Regions from separate parts of the Homo sapiens genome. Here region 2 is linked to region 1. The links are contacts of gene promoters, found by promoter capture Hi-C in blood cells and fetal thymus (Javierre and others, 2016). All regions are on one chromosome and are shown on one strand. The core of a region is centred on a gene start or on the middle of the fragment in contact, and the rest is flanking DNA. Distances in the headings are between cores, read along the strand shown.

Evidence for each region. Contacts are between HindIII fragments. The CHiCAGO score rates a contact against its expected background, and 5 or more counts as called.
Region 2: a contact is called between a fragment that was not itself captured here and the fragment with the promoter of ZKSCAN7 in region 1, in 5 of 17 cell types (naive CD8 T cells, total CD8 T cells, endothelial precursors and 2 more). The highest score is 5.9, in naive CD8 T cells.

The regions. Positions count from the first base shown.
Region 1 is chr3:44,553,650-44,556,588 of GRCh38, reverse strand. ZKSCAN7 (zinc finger with KRAB and SCAN domains 7) reads right to left here and starts at 1,396. Exons shown (of 6, transcript NM_001288590.2): 1 at 1,108-1,396. RefSeq lists silencers at 1,343-1,482, 1,593-1,642. The HindIII fragment of the contact is 2,808 bases long and covers 1-2,369 here.
Region 2 is chr3:44,843,855-44,846,793 of GRCh38, reverse strand. All of the region lies in intron 30 of KIF15 (kinesin family member 15), which reads right to left. It also overlaps the pseudogene HNRNPA1P77. Among named protein-coding and RNA genes, the nearest start is that of MIR564, 17 kb to the left of the region's middle. The HindIII fragment of the contact is 1,334 bases long and covers 882-2,215 here.

The DNA of each region.
Region 1 (2,939 bases), core at 147-2,646:
AGAAAATACTAAGTTATTTAACTCCTATTTAATGTATGTTTTATAATGTGCATTACAATTTGTATAGTAGTATTCATGTTTAAATTACAAATAAACCAATGTAGGGAGTAAGTGATCAAACCTCTTCTACTGATAGAAATGCAAAATAAAGAAAGTTTGGAGCTAAAGCTCTAGAGACACACTTAGAAGCCACACATACTCTTTCTTTGAATTTTTCTTCTTCAACTTTTGGCAAACTTGTCTGTCAAGACCATGAACAAAGGCAACTTTTTCTTGGTTTTCCTGATTGCCCCATCAGGAAGAGTGCTGGTAGCTTCCCTTTGTGTACCTCTCACTATAACCCTTTAACTGGTTTATGCACAACTCACCACTCTCACCCTCCAAACTGCTGCACGGCCACCAAAGGAAAGGAACCAAATGGAATCAGAAAATACTAGACCTTTTTTTACTCAATGCACCTCCCCTAGAAAGCCTTCCTGATCACGCTAGGCTTAGAGAGGTGGTTATTGTCTCAGTGATCCCAAACTACCTTTTTCATTCAAACCTCTAGTAGAGCACATCTCACACTGTAATCGTTTGTGGTTTACACGACTGTCTCCCCTGCTTTCTGGGAGGATACAAAGGGCAGAGCTGACTTCCAGTCATCTTTGTACACGTGTGCACATGGCACACATAATTGGGAAATGAATGAATATGATACATTTAGCTGACACTGAAGTGGAGGAAAACTTTGAACGTTTTAAAATCAGCACCTTACTGGTAACTAGGGCATCTGTGCTGTGCTTCCAGTTCACCAAGAGCCCAGATCCCTGTGTCTCAATCTCTTTAAAAAGACAAAGAAGGACTTTAAAATAATCTGTAAACTCTGCTCTAAGATCCCATATATGTAGAAAGTTCAGGCCATTCTCCTGCTTCCCATAGTGTTCCGAATGCTCAGCACTTTAAAATCTCAATTGGATTTTTGCATTTCCAAGTCACGCTCCACGTTTGCGATTCTGAGCCTGGGTCTGACCCAAATATGACAGTTCATACAGTTTCCTACTGCAAGAGCTGGGAAAACAGCGATCTACCTTTCGTGTTAAACCAGGCTTCAGCAGCGCCGCTCACCTGGCCACGTCTGCCCTGTTCATCGCTGTACCCGCAGATACCCGGCTCCGTGCCACGCACGAATGGTCAGGGGTATGAGACAAAGAAGCGGCTCTACATCGGGCGGCTTCTGAGAGTCACGGGGACCGCGCCGCCTGCCGCCGGGAAGAAGCGCGGTCCTGGCCAGCGTCGGCGACCCGAGCTCCGGCCGCGCCTCCCTCCGCGTCTCGGCCCACTCGCGGTGGCACTCGGCACCGAAGCCGGACACTCTACTGCCCGTTAGACCAAAAACAATGGCCGAGCCGGAAGCGAGAGAGGCCTCGACTTCCGCCCCCTCCGGGATCCCGGAAGTCTCGTTTGCGAAGGTGGGCGCGCGCGTCCCCGCACCCGGGAGAGCTGGCAGGGCTTACTTCTCGGCTGTGCCCGGCCACCTGCCGCGGGCGGGGTCGGGGTCTCGCGAGGGCCCAGGCCACTCACATCCCGCTCTCAGGCCATAGTCGGGGGATCCAGACGCGTCCCAGCTCTACACCTTCTCCTCCAGGTGTCCTTGGGAAAGATACCCAACCTCCAAGCCTGTTTTCTCATCTGAAAAAAATGCAGAGCATAATGCGTACCTCACAGGGCTGGGAGCACCGCATGAGGTTAACAGACACTACATAGCAAAAGGCCTGGCATATCCTGAGCAGTCAGTTATACCATGTGTGATGCCCAATCTGAAGTCTCAGTGAAGGGAGCAGCAAGCATCTCCCATCTTAAAAATGAAGAAGCATGTCTAGAAATTGTGATATTTTGGCCCATAAATGTGGTTAATATTTCGTAAGACAGCACCAGCATTCTGGTGTCCATGTAGAGGTTCCTAGGGAGACCAAGAAGCAGATAAACTGAGAAGGTGTGGGGACAGTTTGTAACCTAGTAGGCAGTTGTCTAGCCTCTGGGTGGCAGGTGGTACCCAGGTGACTTTCACTTTGAAGAATGGTTTGCATACAGAAGGAGGATATGAACTGGTCCTTGTTACAAACATGGTTGAGCAGGCCCTGTGTGTTAATGACCACGGGTGAAGGGCAAAGGGTGTGATGAAGTTAACTGTGTATCTTTATTATAGCACAGGAGATAGGTCCTTTACAGGGCCCAAAGTAAACAGTCTCCTGGACTGTCTAGGGATGGCAATATTTCAAAGGTGCCCTGGGCCTAACCCTGGCCCTGACATATGTTCCTCATATATCTGTGTGAGCCAAGATAGAAACAAAGACACCAGAAGTCCTGCTCCAGAGTTTCCACAAGCTTAAAAGTAATCTCTTGGAGCAATCTTTGTCCATTGATCCTAATGGTGGTTTCCTGTCATCAAGGTCCCCCTCTCCATTTGGAAATCTCACAAGGAGGTTTTGGCTATTTAAAACCAGGAACCCCAGCCTCTGCCTGACATTGATGCTAGACATTGCCTACTGGCAAATCAAGGCCTCAGAAGCTTAGGATTCTTGAGGTGGAAGGCAAATCAAGGCCCCAGAAGCTTAGGATTCTTGAGGAGGAAATCTCCCAAGGCCAGGCTAAATGCTCTCAGACCTGATTTTCAGGTCTCCTTGACCACGTGTTGTCCTGCAGTCCTGGCTTCCTATTATAGGAGACACAAGGATTTGGAAACCAAGATTGAGGTTTTTTATTCTTCAGAGCTGTTTCATGCACAAGTGGTTGGCTTTCATTGGCTGTAAGGACCAGGCCCATCTGAGCAGTGTGTTTAGACTTCAGAGGCACTTCTGTGACCAACACTGTGGGCCTGGCCCGATCTACCATGACTGGGTTGGGCCCCAGTGGGCAAGACACTTGATGATGCCTCGATATAGCACCTTAGGACACCT
Region 2 (2,939 bases), core at 299-2,798, 290 kb before region 1:
CTTTTTTTTTTTTTTTTTTTTTGAGACAGAGTCCTACTCTGTCCCAGGCTGGAATGCAACAGTGCAATCTCAGCTTACTACAACCTCCACCTCCCCGGTTCAAGCGATTCTCCTGCCTCAGCCTCCTGAGTAGCTGGGATTACAGGTGCGTGCCACCACTCCTGACTCATTTTTTGTATTTTTAGTAGAGACAGGGTTTCACCATGTTAGTCAGGCTGGTCTCAAACTCCTGACCTCAAATGATCTGCCTGCCTCGGCCTCTCAAAGTGCTGGAATTACAGGCGTGAGCCACGACACCCAGTGAAAAACATCTTTTAAAAGACATTTATTCAACATCATGATCAGACTATGACATTTGGCAATCAACAGGATGAGTGCAAAGGAAAAAAAAAACACATTAAAACTCTTTGTTAAGACTGCTTTACACTTTCCACAGAACAGAAACTAAACTAACCTGTTATACAATTAGTCACAAATACGGTCCTTGAGTTTTTTACCCATACACCTGAGTATTGTCTAAAACATATCTTCTTTGTAGCAGCTAGGCCCTGCTACCAACTGTGCTTGGCTGAGTTCACAAATCTGTTGTAACCTGTAGTTTCCCTGTCACTTCTCTGGCTCTCCTCTCCTGCTAAGCTTTGTTTCCTGGCATTAATTAAAACCTTCTGCCACTGCCATAACTACTGCTGCTACTGGAACTGCCTGTCAACCTAAAAAGAAACTCAGAAAGACAGGCTCTTTAGAACAAACAAGTTTATCTAGGAATAGCAGAGGGATTGCAATTGCAGGGTATGCAAGCTATGACGGGCCATTAATGTATCCAGGGGAGTTGGGGAAAGGGAAAGCTTTTAAAGACAAAGAGAAATCCATGAAATAAAGCTTGAAATAAAGCTCACGGGTCACAGAAGCTCAGTGCAGGAGTTGGCGTTTATTCATTGGTGGAGATGGCTGTTGCTGAGTAACTGTCCTGGTGCTGGCAGCTTGTCTGAAATACTGCAGGCCTGAAAAATTCCTGTGATAAGCTCTGTTGCAGGGTGAGTGCAGAAGTGGGGCATGTGGGACCTGCAGGAATTTCTTGTGATAAGGTATATTATAGGCATGTGCGGTGAGAACTTTTTTAGGGCCTCCTGACTCCACTTTGTTAGGGTTTTGACATAAGTGACTCCATTCTGGTACTGGCAACTTTCACATGCCTTAGCCACCTTGATTTGATGTTTTGGCAACATAGTAGCCTCAGCCACCACAGGGGCCAGAGTTTCTTTCTTTCTTTTTTTTTTAGGTGCCAGAGTTTCTGTCTCCAAAGTTTCTTCTCTTCATGGGTTCAAAATTGATTGAAGATTGGTTGTTGTAATTACCAAAATCGTTGTAGTTCCCACCATCTCCAAAACTGCTTCCATCATTTAAGTACTAAATCCATTATAGCCATCCCTGCTGCCCCCATATCCACCAATACAGCTGCCTCCAAAGCTACCATTACCAGTGAAATTTTTCCTTGATGACCAAAGTTGTTACTCCCACCAAAACCACCTCCATGACCACCACCAAAGTTTCCAGAACCACTCTGACCTCTCTGGCTGGCTGAAGTACTAACCATTTCTTTCTTCAACATGGTTTTCCATACTTCATGGTAGTGGCTATGTACTTTACGGTATTTCTGAGAGACAATCTTATTCGCAGAGTCATGGCTGTCCTCAAAGGTTAAAAAAGTAAAGCTCTTCTTTTTGCCATTGCCTCACTCAGTCATGATTTCAACCACTCCTATTTTCTCATACCTTCACAATAATCTCTTAGGTGATGTTCTTCAGTGTCTTCTGTGATGCCACCAACAAAGATCTTTTTTACAGTTAACCAGGCACCTGGTCTTTGAGAATCTTTTCTTGACATCCCTCTTTGGTTTCACAACTCTTTCATCTGCCTTGTGTCGCCTTGATTTACGGCTGCATCCATCTCCTCCACAGTGCCATCTGTGAAAAACCAAAGGCCCTGGAATGCTTGGTGTTTGGGTCTCTCATTGCTATATAATCCATGAGCTTTCCTCACTACTCAGAATGGCTCCCCAGACTCTTATTGGTTGTTTCAAAGCTCAATCGTCTGATGAAGAGCTTCTGTAGCTATTCGGGCTATTTAAGAGACTCTGACTTAGATATGTTGGTAGTGGGAAGAAAGACTTGAACGATGCATCCTTAGTGGCATCCATGGGCAAAAGTAGTAAGCTTATGACGTATCTCTGAAATACGGTATTTTAAATTTTCATTTTACAAATGATCCGGAAATGTTCTATGTTCACAGTAGCTCTTGACAAAAGACAGTATACTAAATATAAGGCTTTTCTTTAATAGAATTGGACATATATGGAGCATATGAAAACTAGGTGAGCAGACTGTGGACTACCTACATCAGAATCACCTACAAAGGGAGGCACGTGCTTTTTTAAAATGCAGAATTCTGGGCTTCGCTCCAGCCCTACTGAATAAGATCTCTGATGCTCACTAAAATTTGAAGAGAATCATTTAAGAAGAGATTTTAGCATAGCCACCATTACCATCCTCAAATCTCTCCTGCCTCATTTAGGTTTTGAACAACTCATATCAGGGGTGTTTCTGGACAGGGCCAGGGAGCTGCAGGAGTGCACAAGCTTCTCTGTCAAAGATGTTGTGGCAACAGCATGGACAGCAGTCAGTGGAATTCGGTAAGGGCTTCTATCTCGGAGATCCCACTTTGATTCAATTCGACTTCTTGCATAATTTTACAGGCCACTATCATCTCCAAACTCTCACTCAGAAAGTTACAATAGGCAGAATCATAATTCTACCTTGTGTACTTAATAACTACTTTTCATTGACTGACACCTGCTACCAAACACTGTAACTGGCACTTTATACATGTAATTTTTAATCTTTAAAACTCCTTGTGAGAAAATGAACATTTTCTTCATTTTA